Regions from separate parts of the Homo sapiens genome. Here regions 1, 2, 3, 5 and 6 are each linked to region 4. Evidence: promoter capture Hi-C in 16 types of primary human blood cells and fetal thymus (Javierre and others, 2016). All regions are on one chromosome and are shown on one strand. The core of a region is centred on a gene start or on the middle of the fragment in contact, and the rest is flanking DNA. Distances in the headings are between cores, read along the strand shown.

Region 1 (2,865 bases), core at 346-2,845, 280 kb before region 4:
TGGGATCTGATCCTGTCTTCAAGTAGCTAGTGTCAGAATTGAGTAAAATTATAGGATACCCAGTTTGCACCTGCTGGAGGATTGTTTGGTGTGTGGAAAAAACCCTCTACACTTAAGAAGTATTGTGTTGGCCGGGCGCGGTGGCTCACGCCTGTAATCCCAGCACTTTGGGAGGCCGAGACGGGCAGATCACGAGGTCAGGAGATCGAGACCATCCTGGCTAACGCGGTGAAACCCCGTCTCTACTAAAAATACAAAAATTAGCCGGGCGTGGTGGCGCGCGCCTGTAGTCCCAGCTACACGGGAGGCTGAGGCAGGAGAATGGCGTGAACCCGGGAGGCGGAGCTTGCAGTGAGCCGAGATCGCGCCACTGCACTCCAGCCTGGGCGACAAAGCAAAACTCCGTCTCAAAAAAAAAAAAAAAAAAAAAAAATAGTATTGTGTTGAGTGACTGTATGACAGTAGAGGAGAAAAATTGTTTATTTTTTCTTCAGACCATATTTTACTTATCCACTCATCAACTGATGACCATTTGGGTTGTTTCCTTTTTTGTCTATTACGAATAATGCTGCAAAAAACATTCTTGTATAGGCTTTTGTGTGGACACATGCCTTCATTTATCCTGCATATGTACCTAGTAGTGGACTTGCTGGGTCATAAGATAACTCTATACTTAACCTTTTCAGAAACTGCCAAACTTTTCCATGGTAGTTGCACCATTTTACATTCCTACCAGCAGTGTATGAGGATTCCAATTTCCCCATATTCTTGCCAAAAATTATCTGTCTTTTTTATTATAGCCATCCTAGTGGGTGTAAAGTGGCATGTCATTGTGGTTTTGAATTGCATTTCCTCCTGGTGACTAATGATACGGAGCACTTTTTTTTATGTGATTATTGGCCACTGGTATGTCTTCTTTGGACAAATGTCTATTCCTATCCATTGCCTATTTTTGAAACGTCTTTTCTACTGAGTCTAAAAGTTCTTTATATATCCTAGACACAAGTCCCTTATCAGATATAAGATTTGCAAATATTTCCTCCCAGTCTGTGGGTTGTCTTCTTTTTTGTTTTAAGACAGAGCCTTGCTCTGTCACCCAAGCTGCAATGCAGTGGCACAATCTCAGCTCACCGTAACCGCTGCCTCCCAGGTTCAAGGGATTCTCATGTCTCAGCCTCCCGAGTAGCTGGGACTATAGGCACATGCCACCACACTTGGCTAATTTTTGTATTTTTAGTAGAGACAGGGTTTCACCATGTTGGCCAGGCTGGTCTGGAACTCCTGACCTCAAGTGATCGGCCTGCCTTGGCCTCCCAAAATGCTGGGATTACAGGTGTGAGCCACCATGCCTGGTCTTCTTCTTACTTTCTTGATAGTAACCTTTGAAGCACAGAAGTTTTTAATTTTGATGAGCTCCAAATTATTCATTTTTTTCTTTGGTTACTTGTGCTTCAGTGCCATATCTTAAGATCAACTTTAAACAAGCTTTTTTCAGCTTGTATTGTCAGTTGTAGGCATTGATTCTTTTCCACTTTAGCAGCAGGGCCTCTCCTTACCCTGACTCACTCACTTATGGAGACATGGCAGACCACACAGCCCACAGGCAATGCAAGACATGAATGGATTTGCACACCCCACTGAGTCCTGCTGTGCTCTGATTATCACTTTGATTATTACTGAACACTGCAAAGTCTAGATAAGGCTTTTAAGCTTCTGGAGCCTTTCAGAATTGTTAATTAATCCTTAAAATAGCTTTGAAGGCTGATTTCCCCCCTGATTCTAAGAAGATAATTAAGAAGCTATTGCCAAGACAAATAACTTTTTTCGGAGGAACTCTAACCTCTGAAATTTTCAAACTTTGACTACTAAGGAGGAAGGAGACAGAAACTGGGCAAAGTGTGACAAAGAGCAGTCAAGGCACAGCAAGTGAGTGGCGACCGAAGCTCAGTATGTTTATATCCTCACTCGCCTGTTACTATCATCACCTCCTCACATGGTTTCTACTCACCACCACGCCCCTGTGACTACCCACCACACTGAAGCCAGAAGGACCATATTTAAAAATCTGGTTATACCAATTGGTTCATCAATACCCGCAAGATTTTTTAGAAATTAGATATTTTCGGCTGGGCACGGTGGCTCACCCCTGTAATCCCAGCACTTTAGGAGGCCAAGGCAGATGGATCACGAAGTCAGGAGATCAAGACCATCCTGGCTAACACGGTGAAACCCCGTCTCTACTAAAAATACAAAAAATTAGCCAGGCATGGTGGCAGGGCCTGTAGTCCCAGCTACTTGGGAGGCTGAGGCAGGAGAATGGCATGAACCCAGGAGGCAGAGCTTGCAGTGAGCCAAGATCACGCCACTGCACTCCAGCCTGGGTGACAGAGTGAGACTCTGTCTCAAAAAAAAAAAAAAAGAAATTAGAAATTTTCAGAAATATCGTGTCCCCAAATGCTTTGTCAGTTTATCCGCTACAATTATCTCCCATGTTTCACACACTCAAGCCTCATCAACTTTCTCCAGGTTTACTAAAACCACTGCACTACTAGAAACTCCTTTGCTCTGGAAGGTACCTTCCTTCTGCTGCTCACACGGGAAGACCTAGACATGCCACCCCCTAGTGACGTCTTCCCAGCTTTGCTAGGCAATTAATAGACTCTACCTGTGTGTGATGCCCTTGGCATTTTCTTCATAGTTCTATTATTATTATAACCCAGATGGCAACTGGAATCATGCTGCTCTTTATGCTCCAGTTACCACTGCTTGCACCACAACTCCACATCCTGTGGAAAATTTAGTACCCATTCAGGATGTCTGAAATCCCTAGACAATAAGGCGAGAATGGTGATTATCCTATGGATA
Region 2 (2,700 bases), core at 40-2,539, 370 kb after region 4:
ATACAAAAAATCAGCCAGGCATGGTGATGCGCACCTGTAGTCCCAGCTACTTGGGAGGCTGAGGCAAAGGAATTGCTTGAACTCGGGAGGTGGAGGTTGCAATGAGCTGAGATTGCGCCACTGCGCTCCAGCCTGGCGACAAAGCAAGAGTCCGTCTCAAAAAAAATAAATAAATAAAAAATAAAAATCAAAGTCTAAGATAAATGTAAGATTTTCGTTAAAATAAAAACAAAAACCAAAGCCTAAGACAGAGCAAACTGAATTTCAACTCAAGACAGTGTTCACTAGTTCTTCATGACTAACAGAATCATTCAGACTGGGAGAAGATTCAGATTCCCACTTTGAGTACACTGAGCAAGAAAGCAGCAGAAGTGGCTTTCCTTTTAAATCCACCAATGCAAAATATCATGACAGAGATGATAAATTCCTCTTCAAAAGGTTTTAATTCCCAGTTCTTCCACTTCGTTTTTCTGGTTTCTGTAGTTATCCATGCTATAACTAACCCTTCCTGCCCTTGCCGCGCCCTGACATGCCTAGACATGTCTTACGCCATAACGCATAGCCTTCCCCTTCCCGCCTAGATATCTGTGTTCAATTACAAACAGCAGCCAATCGAGTCAGTTTAGATTGTGCAGTCCAACCCTAGCCAATAGGGGAAAGACACAACAGTAGGGACCAGCTGTTAGGAATAAGAACCCCTTTCCCTCCCTTGTCCAGTGTGCTCTTGCCATTGCTCCATCCGCGAGACACACCCTTCTACAGAAGTAAATTGCCTTGATGAGAAAACTTTTGCCTGAGTATATTTTCACTTTGTGACACCAAGCATTTACTTCCAACAATTTGGGGGCCCACCCAGGATTCCCATTCTCCTCCGGGGAACCGGTCTCTGGTCACTTCTTGTGGGGAGGCGCATCCCATCGCCTTGTTGCAGTGGCCTCAGTGTGAGAGATTGGAACCCATCCAGTGCAACAAATAAACCCAGACTCTCGGCAACAAGAAAAGATACAGGCCAGCAGCTTGGCAAAAGGATTCTCACATGCTGCAGCAACCAGGTAACTCTGCACAGACCAAGGTAAGAAATGTTGCAGGGGTGACAAAGTATTTCCTTGGTGGTTGGGATATTCTGGAGGATGAAAGTGTGTGTGAATGATCACAAGCACTACTGCTTGCGGTGCTGCTTGTGTGAATGGTACCAAGCACTACTGCTGTGCAGAGTGAGTGGGTCCTATCTGCAGTTCTGTGGTCACTTCATACAGCTTAGGGCGGATCCTGCTGTGGGTTTCATACCGGCATGCCAATGCCAAGAGGGGCCTAAATTCCCACGAGGGAAGTAGCCAGAGTGGACAAAGCAAAAGAAGGATGCAAGGATCCTCCAGGAGGCGGGGTTAAAGGATAGGCAAGAAATCTCTAATACAAGGGACTGAGCCTTAACAAGCCTCCAGAGAATAGGCAAGAAGTCTCTAATACTAGGACCTGACATGGGAAATACCCTAAGCAAGACAAGGAGTAAAAAGGATAAAGGTAGCAGTAAAGATATTGCCCCGATAGTCCCCTAGGTCTCATGTTAAAAGACTGGAAAGATAATGAGAAGACTAAACATAAGCAGCAGCAATTACTGTTTTATTTGGACTCAGGGACCCATCCTCAAACCCTCAATCTTCTGGCCAAAGTTTAGGTCAAATGAGAGTGCGATGTGTCAGCTTTTGATTCAATATGTCAATGATAAAAGCCCAGCTTCTTAAGAGGAAATGGACTATGCTCTTTGTTGGAGGCAGGGACCTGTCCTCCTTTTTCCCTTTGAGACAACTAGGAAAGAACCTGATCTAGCATCACAAAAGGAAAAATTAGGTAAGTTAGTTCCAATGCTCAAAGACTCCAGCACATGGGATCCCCTAGACCATCTTCCCCCACTCAGTGACCCCAACCCCTCTCCTCAGGCAGCCGCTGCTGCCCCAGATCCCACTCTAGATCCTTCACCTACTCATGTTACTCCTCCTCCTTACAATCCTGACTTTTAGAAATTATCATCCCAGGAGCCTGTCCCCTATCAGCCTAAGGACCCCTCCCTAAAGGGACTCCAGTGTGAAATAGAGCAATGTAAAAAGGATATCCAGAACTTCCCTTTCCCCTCTACAACTCAAGAGTCAGCCCCTGCTCTCTTTCCCTTAAGAGAAATGCCATAAAGAGGGGGAACCATTGGCTCCGTGAATGCTCCCTTAATCAGTTCAGAGGTCCAGAATTTAAAGAAAGAGCTTAAGCCACTGCAAGATGACCCTTATGGAGTGACAGATCAAACTGATCAATTTTTAGGACCTCAGTTATACACTTGGGTAGAGTTAATGTCCATCTTGGACATCCTCTTTTCAGGAAAAGAAGGGAGTGTGATTCGTAGGGCTGCTATGGTAATTTGGGAACGTGAGTGTCCTCCCAGTCAAAAAGTTCCTACTGTGAACCAGAAATTCCCCGCCCGAGACCCCCAGTTGGACAATAAAAACATGCAGGACCTAAGGGAGATGATAATAAAAGGAATTCAGGAATCAGTACCCCAAACCCCAAATCTCTCTAAAGCATTTGATATATAACAAAAAAAAAGGATGAAGGGCCTATGAGATTCCTAAATAGACTGAAAGAGCAAATGAGACAATATGCAGGCCTCAATTTAGAAGATCCCCTTGGGCAAGGAATATTAAAACTCCAATT
Region 3 (2,700 bases), core at 86-2,585, 350 kb after region 4:
ATGGTTAGTGAATATTAGTGACATACTCTAATAAAAATGTTAAGTATGACAGAAAATGAATTATCAAAGCAGCTCACCATGCAGGTTTGATTTTGTAATAAGACTTCCAGCAACAATGGTATTCTGGTATCCTAGTTTCAGTGGAATCAAATCAAATAAAAATCTATTTAAAATCTACAGAACTGAGATCTAAAGCAACAAGAAAATAAGAGCCCAAAAAACTGTTATACGCCATTTTAAATGTTCTAATCATTTAATTAAAAAAAAAAATAAGGCCTTTGTTTGAACAATCCTATTCTGGAGGAATTGTTTCAAAGTGAATGGCATATATATGTAAAACATATACATTGAAAACTACTTTTCCCCATTTTACCTTCAAGATCCTCAAGTTCTTTAGGTTTGGCCCAGCGAGATTCTTTTGTTTGAGAATTATAATAGTAAGGCTTTCCAGAATCTGATTTGTATTCCTTCCAGGGGCATTTAGATAAGAGTTGCTGAAAAGGAAAAAACTGTTTGTTAATAATAATATATTTAACATCACTGATCATTTACATGGCTGTTTTCACTAGAAATTACCAATTGATACAATTCTAAAACTCGTGAGATGATGGTAATAATATAAACTATCAATTATTGAATATTCACTGAGTGATGCCATTTGAATACATTATTTAATCTTTATAACACTGCAAAATGTGTAACATAATTCTGTATCTAGGGACTGTTACTTGAAGTCAGAAAGTAACTTGTTTAAGGTAATATACTCATTAAAAAGCAGAGACAAGATTCAAAACCAGTTCTATATGAATTTCAAATCCTATTTACTGTAACCATTCACACCCCATTATAGGTCAAGATTATCATCCACATTTTTTTTTTTTTTTTTTTTTGAGACGGAGTCTCGCTTTGTCACCCAGGCTGGAGTACAGTAGCTCGACCTCGGCTCACTGCAAGCTCCGCCTCTCGGGTTCACGCCATTCTCCTGCCTCAGCCTCTCTGAGTAGCTGGGACTACAGGCGCCCGCCACCACGCCCAGCTAATTTTTTGTATTTTTTTTTAGTAGAGACGGGGTTTCACCGTGGTCTCGAACTCCTGACCTCGTGATCCGCCCGCCTCGGCCTCCCAAAGTGCTGGGATTACAAGTGTGAGCCACCGCGCCCGGCCTATCATCCACATTTAACAGACTTCTCTGATACTAATATTAGTTGGAAAACCATAAAAGTTCAAAAAAAACAAAATCTAATTTAGTCATGCTTAGATTTCAGTTTCGTAGTTTATGAACGAATTAACTTATTATGTAAGAAAACATGTAGGTATAATATACTTAAAATCGAATAAACAAAACCTGTTAGGGTAGTATGAGAAATCTATTCAAAGTGTGAATCCAAACAGAGTGTCTTGGACAAAGTATGTAATTAATATCATTGGCTATAAATCAGTACTGGAATACATGTTTTTAAAAATCGTCCGACCTCCCCTCCCAAGCACTGCTGTTCATGTTAGTACAGCAACCTGGAAAATACTTTTACCTTCTCAAATTCCTTAATTAGGAAGAGAAGAAAACAAAAAGGTATACCACCAGCTAGGATGAAACTTAAGCATAGCCTGGAGTGCCAGATCAACTCTTACTTACTTAGCACCCCAGAGTTTCTAATTAAACAACATGTGACATTGCTTAATTCAGTTTATTCCTTCAACCTTAACTTTTTCTTCAATATCTGTATATTTTGAATGGTAAAACTTGTAACAAAAAACAAAATAAAAACACACTTTTTAAAAGGGCATTTCCTGCAAAGAGAAAACTTCCCACTCTAAGAGAAGGAAGTATTTGTAGGTAACTTAATTTCATCTCCACTACCCTTAACCCTACTGGAAATTTAAGAACTCAGTAGAAGTCATTTAAAATCACCCAGTTTTGCTATCAGAAAAAAAAGCCAGCGGCAGGCAAAGAAACAGTCTTCCCCACTTCCAATTTATTCTTTAAATCACCTTTTTAAAATTGATCCCACTCTACTAGGTTTTCTAAGCAGGGGTAAAATCAGTAAATAAAATTATTCTGTTGAGTTTTATTGCTCTTCTTCCCGATTGGTGTGACTATACTAACCCTCTTTTTTTCTGAATGTCTTTACAGATCCTCTTCTGACATTTAAGCAGTACTGCTCTTTGATAATCGACTACTTATAGAATCCTAAAAAATACGCCCCAGTCTACTTGACAGTCCCTGAATTCCAGCTCTCAAACTTTTACCTCAGCAGGTGTTTTAAGATCATCTGGTTTCTCCCAGGTAGACTGTTTGGTTTCAGTGTTGTAGTAGTAAGTCCTTCCATCAGGTGATTTATGTTCAGTCCACATTGATTTCTAAAGAATAAAGATTAAAAAAGATGTAAATTATGTAACAATGCCATTGACAATATCAGTATCATTAGTTCCAAGGCAATAAATATATTAAGAAATCAATCAAAAGTAAAAACTGGGCATATTTTGACAGTTTAAGTAATCTAGAATAATTCATCAATACAAGTAGGAAGGGAACTGAAAAACAAGGTTTTTAGAGTACTTCAAAAGCAGCAAGGGTAAATTCAAGTTTCAGGATCTCTCTGAATTACAAAGATAAGACTACTCTCCTAAGAACAGTAACTTTATAGCTTACATACAAAAGACAATCTTTCAGAATACAAATCTGTGCCTAGTGGATAAAGA
Region 4 (2,700 bases), core at 26-2,525:
CTATGTTTAAAGTATCTTGAAGTTTATAAAGATGAATGAAATGTCCTTGATTGAATCTTGGTGTACTACCTTGTCCAGAAACACTTGCTATTTACTAAAAGGATAACAACCTTACCTGCATATCAAAATCACCTGGGGAGCTTGTTGAAAATACACCGGCCCAGGCTTCGGCTCTCAGCTTAGGGAGATTCTGATAATACGCAGAGCCCAAGGTGTGTGTAGTTTTAACAAAAAGCTTCCCAAGCGAATCTGATACACATCTAGGATTAAGAAACACTGCTTTAAACTAAGAAAGGACTAACTGCAGAAGTTCAGCCACAAGTCAACCAGATGTATGCCCTTAACATTCACATGAGCAGTTGGCTAAAGTCTCTTATAAGGCTATTTCTATTTCCGAGGTTTCAGAACGGGTAGTTATAGTCTGAAATACACCCCAGAGGACAGAGTCAGGTCCAATCTTTTCTGTAAGACACCTTGCTCAAGACTGCTGTGAAGGAATAAGAGAGCTGCAGCCAAAGATCATCCCAAAGTCTCCCAGAACACTCTATCATTATATCCATCTCACATGAAATATGGGTGTGTACATTTTTTCCTTCACTAGATTGGCAAGTATTCCAGCGCAGGGCAAATCTCTTTTTTCTCCCACCAAGGAACACAATATCCCATACATAATAGGTGTTTGACAGGTTTTTTTTTTAAATTGAATTGAATCCTTACCTAGCTCCTAGGGTCTGACTATATATACCCATAAATTATACATCTGTTTATAAAACATTTCAATCACACCAAAGAACATATATATGGAAGAAAGAACGATAAACAAGCACCCATGGACCCACCCCCCCGTTTATGAAACAGAACTTTGCCAGTGCTTTCGAAGTTCCTTACTGAACTAGATCTTTTAAAAACAGCAACGATTTTCTGAATTTTAATCAGAAGGCATGCATTCCTTCATTCATTGATTCGATTCCGTCATGGTCAGACCCGCCTACCAAGTGTCAACATGATATACACGATGTAAGTATTCCACTGTTGGGGTGAGGAGGGTCAAAAGTGACAATATGCTATCTCCAGAGACTACGGATCGCCTTTGCTGCAAATGGTCCCAACCCGGCCTGGCGCTCTAGAGCAGGCGTGGTTTCTGCGCGCGGACACTTTGGAGAGAAACTACGCGTCCCGGCAGTCCGCGGGGCGAGTGGGCGGAGCCGGGCCGGGGGCGGGGGCCGGGCGCCGGGCGAGAGGTGGCATTGTGTAGGGGAGCGCGGAGCTGCATTTGTCTGCTCCAGGTGCTAGCCAGGCAGGCGCAGCCGTGGCCGGCTAGGGCTGGAAGTGTCAGCGGCGGCCGCGGGCCCGGCAGAAGGCCGAGTAGGAGGGACCACGCGCCGGGGGCCGCGATCTCTGGCAGGGGGCGGTGTGCCAGCGGAGCACCATGCACATAGGCGCCCAGCGCCCCAACTACCCCTCCCGAGGAAAAGAGGCCGGGGCCGCGCTGGGGCGGCGGAGAGCATGAGGGAGGCCGGGGGGCGGCTCGGCTTGGAGCGCTGCTAGGGAGCGGTGCGCGCCGCACACCCGCCTGGGCGCGGCGGAGGGCGGGGAGCCGGGCAGGTCGCGCCTGCGGGCGGCAGCCGACCGCCGGGAGCTGTTCTGATTTCCGACGCGCACGCTAGGGGCCCGGAGCAGCCCCCGGCCCCGGCGCGCCGCCGACATGGGCAACGCAGGGAGCATGGATTCGCAGCAGACCGATTTCAGGGCGCACAACGTGCCTTTGAAGCTGCCGATGCCAGAGCCAGGTGAACTGGAGGAGCGATTTGCCATCGTGCTGGTAAGTGCGCGGCGGCGGTCGGGCGCGGGGACCCGGGGCCCCGGGCCGGGCGGCGCAGCTGACCCCCGCCCCTCCCCTTCACCCCGTGCCGGGAGCGAGCCTCCATTCCCGAGGGGGAGGCTCCCGCTTTCCCCTTTGTGGCCCCCCAGCACTCCTCTTCACCCCCCTGGCAGTCCCCCGCGCTCAGTCTCTCGGGGTCCCGGGATGGGGATGGGGGCTCAGGGCCGGCTGCCCAACCAGCCTCGAACCCATTGTCTGGCTGGAGAGGCACCTCACGGCGCGTGTGCCCGGGAGGTGCGGCGTGGGCGTGAAGAGAAGGTGGCGCGGGCTGGGAGGAGGAGGTGGCGAGCCGCTTAGGCTTTTTTTTTAAAAAAAACAAAACAAAACAAAACAAAACAAAACACCCTGAGCCCCTGCGGACCATCCCTCGGGCGGCCAGCCCGGGACCTGCGAAGTCCCCGGCAGATGGGGCGCATGTGGCCGGCCGCGGGCGCCGCGCCGGGCGGTGAGCGGAGGCGAACTTGGAGGGCTCACGTCGCGGCTTGGCCAAGGGGAGCTTCCCCGAAAGGGAAAGCGGAGACCCACAGCAGTGCGGCGCCCCGGCCCTTGGCGAGGAGCAGGGGCATCTGAAACCCAGGCCGGGGAGAACCTCAGCGCGTTCCCTCTAGACTTAAATCTTAAACCACAAAAATGTGGAGTTTTGCGGGGACGTGTTGCGAGCTGTCCTGACTGCACGGGCGACCCCTCCCCTCCTCTTGCACGCCCAGCCAGGTCCCCCGCTCCCTCCTGCATTCCGCTTCTCCCAGCTTTCCAGCTCCTCAAATCCAGGACTCTGAAAACTCCCCTCTTTCTCCCTTTCCTGCTGGGACAGTGTCTGG
Region 5 (2,743 bases), core at 209-2,708, 320 kb after region 4:
GACCTCTGAAAATTGAGTCTAGACAACTCCCTGTTGCCAAAGTTATTATGTGTTTTGGCTCTAATATACAATAGGAGACTAATCTCAAGCAATTTGATTACTTCACATTTTCTCCAAGATGAGTCTTCCTACAAGCCTGGTCATATTTCACAGCAGAAAAATGACTTGGGAGACAAAATGAGAAACAATCCCCTCACCCACCCCTTCAGCCTTTAAAGAGTAGACATTATATTTAATTCAAACGGGGCAAAATGGGAAAGAGACATTCTGGTCAGGCCCACTTTCAAAACTCACTAGGATGGGTAAGAAAAAAACTTTTTGTTCTTCAAAATCCCAACTTTGAAATAGGATCTCTTCAAGTGTACACATTAAAAGAATAACACAGATAATACCGAAGAATAGGTGCTAAAATTTACTTATTTACTTAAAAAATCTCCTGCACTGAAGGAAAATAGTATAAATTACATTACCAACCTTCAAAAGTTAGCATGTAAAGAGTATTCTGTCTTCAAACCACAGCCTCTCTAAAATAGTCTGTAAAAAATTCATAGGTGAAAAACAAATCTAGGGACCTCAAATGCACTGATTTATAATATTCTTAAATATTAAAAAAGGAAAGTAAACTAGCGGTGTGGGTAAGATGAAGCAAAATTTCAGGGATTTAGTACCTTTAAAGTGATCATACAATTTCTTTAGAGCTGAGCAGTTTAAGTAGAAATAAATACTAGTACACACTAGAAGAGAAGGTTTAATAATTGATAAAAATGTACAAAAATATTCAAATCAGAAATGCTTTAGAATGTGTACCACGAAGTCAATACTTCTCAGTGAGTAGGGAAGGCAAAATACTTCCTCAATAGCAGGGAAAAAAAAGCAAGAGAAAGACTGAATTTAGAAAAAAAAGACAACTGTTAAAGAAAATGTTTAAGTCAACTTTTTTTTTTTTTTTAGACAAGGATATTGCAACTATCACTTAAAGTCTGGTGGCACATTCTTTAGTAGGTCCTTAAGGCAATATATTTAAATTAATTTACAATTTGATTTGATGTTAAAGTTTTTTTAAACATCACCTCAAAATAGATGCTCAAAATAATGCCCTCACAATAGCCTTTGTAAAATGTATTCAGATGTTTGATAAAAAATAATGGTGGCTTTATATTACAGTAGTGCTCATTAGCACCACTATAATTAAGGGTCTACCAAGTTTCCAGCAAAACCACCTGTTTCTTAGGAGTTTCACCATAAAAGATCACATTGGCTTTAACCAGTTGGGTAGCGCACAAAAAAGCAATTTTTATCAGTTGCTGGTGCTTTTTTTGTACTACTATATTATCAAAAAATTTTTCATTAGATCTTCAAAATCCAGCTTCTATAAAGTAAATCAAATCACCTCATGACTTAGATTTTAGAACAAAGTAGAGACATCTGCAGTTATCAGTAAATTGCCACCTTTAATCCATCCTACAGTGCCCTGTGAAAGGGTCACAGAAAGACAGTTATGACTGTATGAAAATATGATTCTTGATACAGAATCAAAAGTTACTTTCAATTTCCTTTGCTTTTATAAAGTCCACGATAACAATACTTAAATGCACTTTTTTTTTCCTGTGATATAATTAAAACCCAGTGTTATTTCAGTTGAACTTAAAATAGAGTCCCTGGTCTGAATCAGACTTTAAATCATACTGTAAACATATATTTGGTATAATTTATTGATCATCATCCAGTTGCTCCAAAAGGGTTCTTCTGCGCTTTTCCAATTCCCCTTCACTCAGTTCGCTGCCAGAAGTATCCCAATTACCCTGAAAAGACATTGATTACAATTATAGTTGACATCAGTACTCAGAGGTTTACGGGCTGAGCCTTTGAAAAAAGAATCCAATATCTATATAAACTCTCTTCCAAAGAAACACATTTCACAGGGTTTAAAGACTGTGTGAATATGAAGCAATATTTCCATTTAATGGAAGCCAGGTATTCATTTCCTAGATAATACATTCCTTGCTAATTTTTTTGTTGAGACAGAGTCTTGTTCTTGTCACCCAGGCTGGAGTGCAGTGGCACGATCTCGGCTCTCTGCAACCTCTGCCTCCTGGGTTCAAGCAATTCTCCTGCCTCAGCCTCCTGAGTAGCTGGGATTACAGGTGCCTGCCACCAAGCCCGGCTCATTTTTGTATTTTTAGTAGAGATGGGGTTTTGCCATGTTGGCCAGGCTGGTCTCGACTCCTGACCTCGTGATCTGCCCACCTCGGCCTCCCAAAGGGCTAGGATCACAGGTGTGAGCCACTGCACCTGGCCTATTCCTTGCTAATTTTGTAGCTTCCCCCTGGTTCCACAAGTATTATCACAGAAACAGAAGTAGTATGCTTTAAGCATATGGATTCCTGTGCCAAATAAATACACAAGACTAATGAGCAGGACAAGATTTAGGCTGAACAAACAAAAATAATACTGCACCGTAAGACACAACCTTTGAAAAGTGGATAGTTCCCATATCGTCCTCTTTCATTCACTCCAGGGATTTCATTTAACCCACCATAAGCTGCTAGAAAGTACAAAGGAAACATTCACTCTTCACTTACGATGTGACTCAGACTCACCTGTTTCAGCTCTAAAAAAAAACCCACCCTATACCAACGAATCAGAATATCCAGAGATCCCTAATAGGGTTTTACCTACATAGTTTATGCTCTCCAGTGATGATTCATAGGCATTTACCCTTGCTAAACCCACAGCATTTGCA
Region 6 (2,778 bases), core at 13-2,512, 300 kb before region 4:
GTGAGCACTCTTACCTTCTTTTTTTTTTCTGATTACATTTCTACTCTTCACTTTATTCACTATTTAGTTGCTTCTAAAATAGTTTGAGGATTATATTAACACAGTCTTGAAAAAATAAAATTCACACATAGTCAAATAACACTGTAGGACATGTTTGTTAAGACAAAAGAAACACAACATTGAAAATACTTGGACATTTTTCATGCTTATAAGACACTAGATTTATGTTTACATTTTTTCATCAATATTAATAGTATAATTCACTATGTATAGATGAAATTTTACACAAGATCATCATTAATTTTTACAGATATGATCTCATAATTTTAGAAAATTTTGTTTCCATTGTTATTGAAAAGAATTTTATGTATTTATTTATTTTTCTTATACTTTAAGTTCTAGGGTACATGTGCACAACGTGCAGGTTTGTTACATATGTATACATGTGCCATGTTGGTGTGCTGCACCCATTAACTTGTCATTTACATTAGGTATATCTCCTAATGCTATCCCTCCCCACTTGACAGGCCCCAGTGTGTGATGTTCCCCTTCCTGTGTCCAAGTGTTCTCATTGTTCAATTCCCACCTATGAGTGAGAACATGCAGTGTTTGGTTTTCTGTCCCTGCAATAGTTTGCTGAGAATGATGGTTTCCAGCTGCCTCCATGTCCCTACAAAGGACGTGAACTCATCCTTTTTTATGGCTGCATAGTATTCCATGGTGTATATGTGCCACATTTTCTTAATCCAGTTGGAACCAACCCAAATGTCCATCAATGATAGACTGGATTAAGAAAATGTGGCACTCTCACCTTCTAAAATTGATACTGATGTCAAGCAAGGTTGGGGAAAGATGATTCATTCACTGCACAGCCTCAGCCCTGGGCAGAAAACACAGCAGTAACAGGGAAGTGGATACAAGCAGTCCAGGAGAAAGGGTACTTGGGGTAGACAGGCGGTATTGCCACGGGACTAGCAAGATATTTTACAGATGAAGAAATAACAATTTACAGAGAAACTTCCTTCCAGAAAGAAAAAGAGGAACCAAGAGAAGAATGACCATCATCCTGATGTGCCCAGAACTCTTTCAGTTTTAGCACCTAATATTGTACATCCTGGGAAACCCCTCAGTCCCCAGGACTGTTGGTCACCCCACAAAGGACACTTCACAAATTATTAAATCTGAACAAGTAACAGGTACAAGATATTATGATGATGACTTAATGACCGAATAAGACTCTGAGGGTAAATCAAGATTTAAATTGCAGTTACGTGTTATACAATGCATGTAGTTCAGGCTGGTAGGAGGACCTTCCAGAAACTGGAAACATGGGACTCTGAGGATGAGAGAGCACACGCAGGTGAGCGGAGACTTCTTCTCCTCCTAATATCCCACTGTTGACGGGTGCTGTGTTATCTGTACTGTGGCCCCTCTGCAGCACAACCTGAGGGAGGAAGGCAGGTCAGACACAGCCAGGGGCTTGCTCAAAGGCCTGGGACCAGGCAGAGGAGGATCCACAGATGGAGCTCAGGTCTCCTCATCCTTAATCCTAGGCTTTCTCCCCTGCCCATCAGCCCCTCCCGGCCGCCATTAATCCTCGGATTTCAGAGTCCTGATGGCCTCTAAGGAGTGAGAGGACAGTCAGCAGGGTCTCTGCTAGACCCTGAAGAGAGACCTGGAGTTAATGGTAGAGAACTAGGCAACAGGAAAAAGAGGAGGTTTTAAAAATTATCCATATTTTTGAAAACTGATATTTTCCTCCATTACTAGAAAACTGCCCTTTCTGTTGGCATTAGGCTCTCTAAAAGGGAAGCACCGTGCTGACAGTCTTGCCAAGCCAAGGGTGAAAGCCTCACAGCCCGTGGCTTGCTTGAACGAAGGCTCCATCAGGGGACAGCAAACTCCCTCATTTCATATTCAGGCAAGAGCGGAGAGCAACAGAGCCTTGATGATTCGAGTGTCTGGATCCTTCTATAGTGTGGGGAAAGGATGTGGCAAATAGAGAGAGAGAAAAAAGGAATAGGAGGCACATGACCAAGTCTGATTTTTTCAGACCTTCTGTTAAAACTGCCCCACAGATGGCTTCAAAATATAGAACCAGAGACTGTGGAGAGCTGGAAGGAATCCCCTTCCCCCCGTCCATTATCTTTGCTCCACGGATAAGAAATTGGCCTGAGAAGGGAAGGGACTGACCCAGGCCACACAGCCAGGAAGGGGCAACAGCCATGTCTCCTGACTCTCAGTGTAACATTTTTTCCCCTAAAATACATTGGACCAAAATCTACTTAGCAGCCCATGGAAATGAACAAGTAAATTGTTAACTTGCTACTAATTTTAGCTATCAACTATTGATGGTGGCACATCTAACTCAGTCGGTCATGATTTTAAGAAAGCCACAATTAATTACAAATTCCTTAAAAAACACAAATAGAGACTATGGTTTAACCATATATTACCGAGACATTTTAATACAACTTTATTTTTAATAATAGGGAATTCAAAAAAATCTAAATGCTTTTTTGCTTAATGCATTTTCTCTCTCCAAAGAAAGTCTCAATATACTTTATATGTTTCCATCTTAAAAAGATTTTTTAGGCAGGGTGTGGTGGCTCATGCCTATAATCTCAGCACTTTGGGAGGTTGAGGCAGGAAGATTACTTCAAGACCACCCAGGGCAATATAGTGAGACCCCCCATCTCTACAAAAACAAAAAAATTAGCTGGGTATGTTGGCATACGCCTATAGTCCTGGCTACTCAGGAGACTGAGGCAAGAGAAT

What was found. Contacts are between HindIII fragments. The CHiCAGO score rates a contact against its expected background, and 5 or more counts as called.
Region 1: a fragment that was not itself captured here is called in contact with the fragment with the promoter of FMNL2 in region 4 in 1 of 17 cell types (M1 macrophages); the score reaches 5.3 in M1 macrophages.
Region 2: a contact is called between a fragment that was not itself captured here and the fragment with the promoter of FMNL2 in region 4, in 1 of 17 cell types (M2 macrophages). The highest score is 8.2, in M2 macrophages.
Region 3: a fragment that was not itself captured here is called in contact with the fragment with the promoter of FMNL2 in region 4 in 1 of 17 cell types (M2 macrophages); the score reaches 5.3 in M2 macrophages.
Region 5: a contact is called between a fragment that was not itself captured here and the fragment with the promoter of FMNL2 in region 4, in 3 of 17 cell types (M2 macrophages, M0 macrophages and M1 macrophages). The highest score is 6.5, in M2 macrophages.
Region 6: a contact is called between a fragment that was not itself captured here and the fragment with the promoter of FMNL2 in region 4, in 4 of 17 cell types (M2 macrophages, M0 macrophages, M1 macrophages and 1 more). The highest score is 12.8, in M2 macrophages.

What each region holds. Positions count from the first base shown.
Region 1 is chr2:152,053,957-152,056,821 of GRCh38, forward strand. The region is part of intron 2 of CACNB4 (calcium voltage-gated channel auxiliary subunit beta 4); the gene reads right to left. Among named protein-coding and RNA genes, the nearest start is that of CACNB4, 44 kb to the right of the region's middle. RefSeq lists an enhancer at 1-274. The HindIII fragment of the contact is 225 bases long and covers 1,484-1,708 here.
Region 2 is chr2:152,700,859-152,703,558 of GRCh38, forward strand. The region is part of intron 2 of PRPF40A (pre-mRNA processing factor 40A); the gene reads right to left. Among named protein-coding and RNA genes, the nearest start is that of PRPF40A, 15 kb to the right of the region's middle. RefSeq lists enhancers at 17-644, 131-1,330, 1,603-2,104. The HindIII fragment of the contact is 5,812 bases long and covers 1-2,700 here.
Region 3 is chr2:152,678,979-152,681,678 of GRCh38, forward strand. It overlaps PRPF40A (pre-mRNA processing factor 40A), which reads right to left. Exons shown (of 26, transcript NM_001365597.4): 6 at 2,248-2,358; 7 at 374-494; 8 at 78-131. Among named protein-coding and RNA genes, the nearest start is that of PRPF40A, 37 kb to the right of the region's middle. The HindIII fragment of the contact is 5,258 bases long and covers 1-2,700 here.
Region 4 is chr2:152,333,899-152,336,598 of GRCh38, forward strand. It overlaps FMNL2 (formin like 2), which reads left to right and starts at 1,276. Exons shown (of 26, transcript NM_052905.4): 1 at 1,276-1,822. The coding sequence starts at 1,706. RefSeq lists silencers at 1,076-1,725, 2,236-2,335. The HindIII fragment of the contact is 3,556 bases long and covers 234-2,700 here.
Region 5 is chr2:152,654,597-152,657,339 of GRCh38, forward strand. PRPF40A (pre-mRNA processing factor 40A) reads right to left here. Exons shown (of 26, transcript NM_001365597.4): 26 at 1-1,802. The coding sequence ends at 1,710. Among named protein-coding and RNA genes, the nearest start is that of PRPF40A, 61 kb to the right of the region's middle. The HindIII fragment of the contact is 5,764 bases long and covers 1-2,743 here.
Region 6 is chr2:152,030,090-152,032,867 of GRCh38, forward strand. The region is part of intron 2 of CACNB4 (calcium voltage-gated channel auxiliary subunit beta 4); the gene reads right to left. Among named protein-coding and RNA genes, the nearest start is that of CACNB4, 68 kb to the right of the region's middle. The HindIII fragment of the contact is 4,901 bases long and covers 1-2,778 here.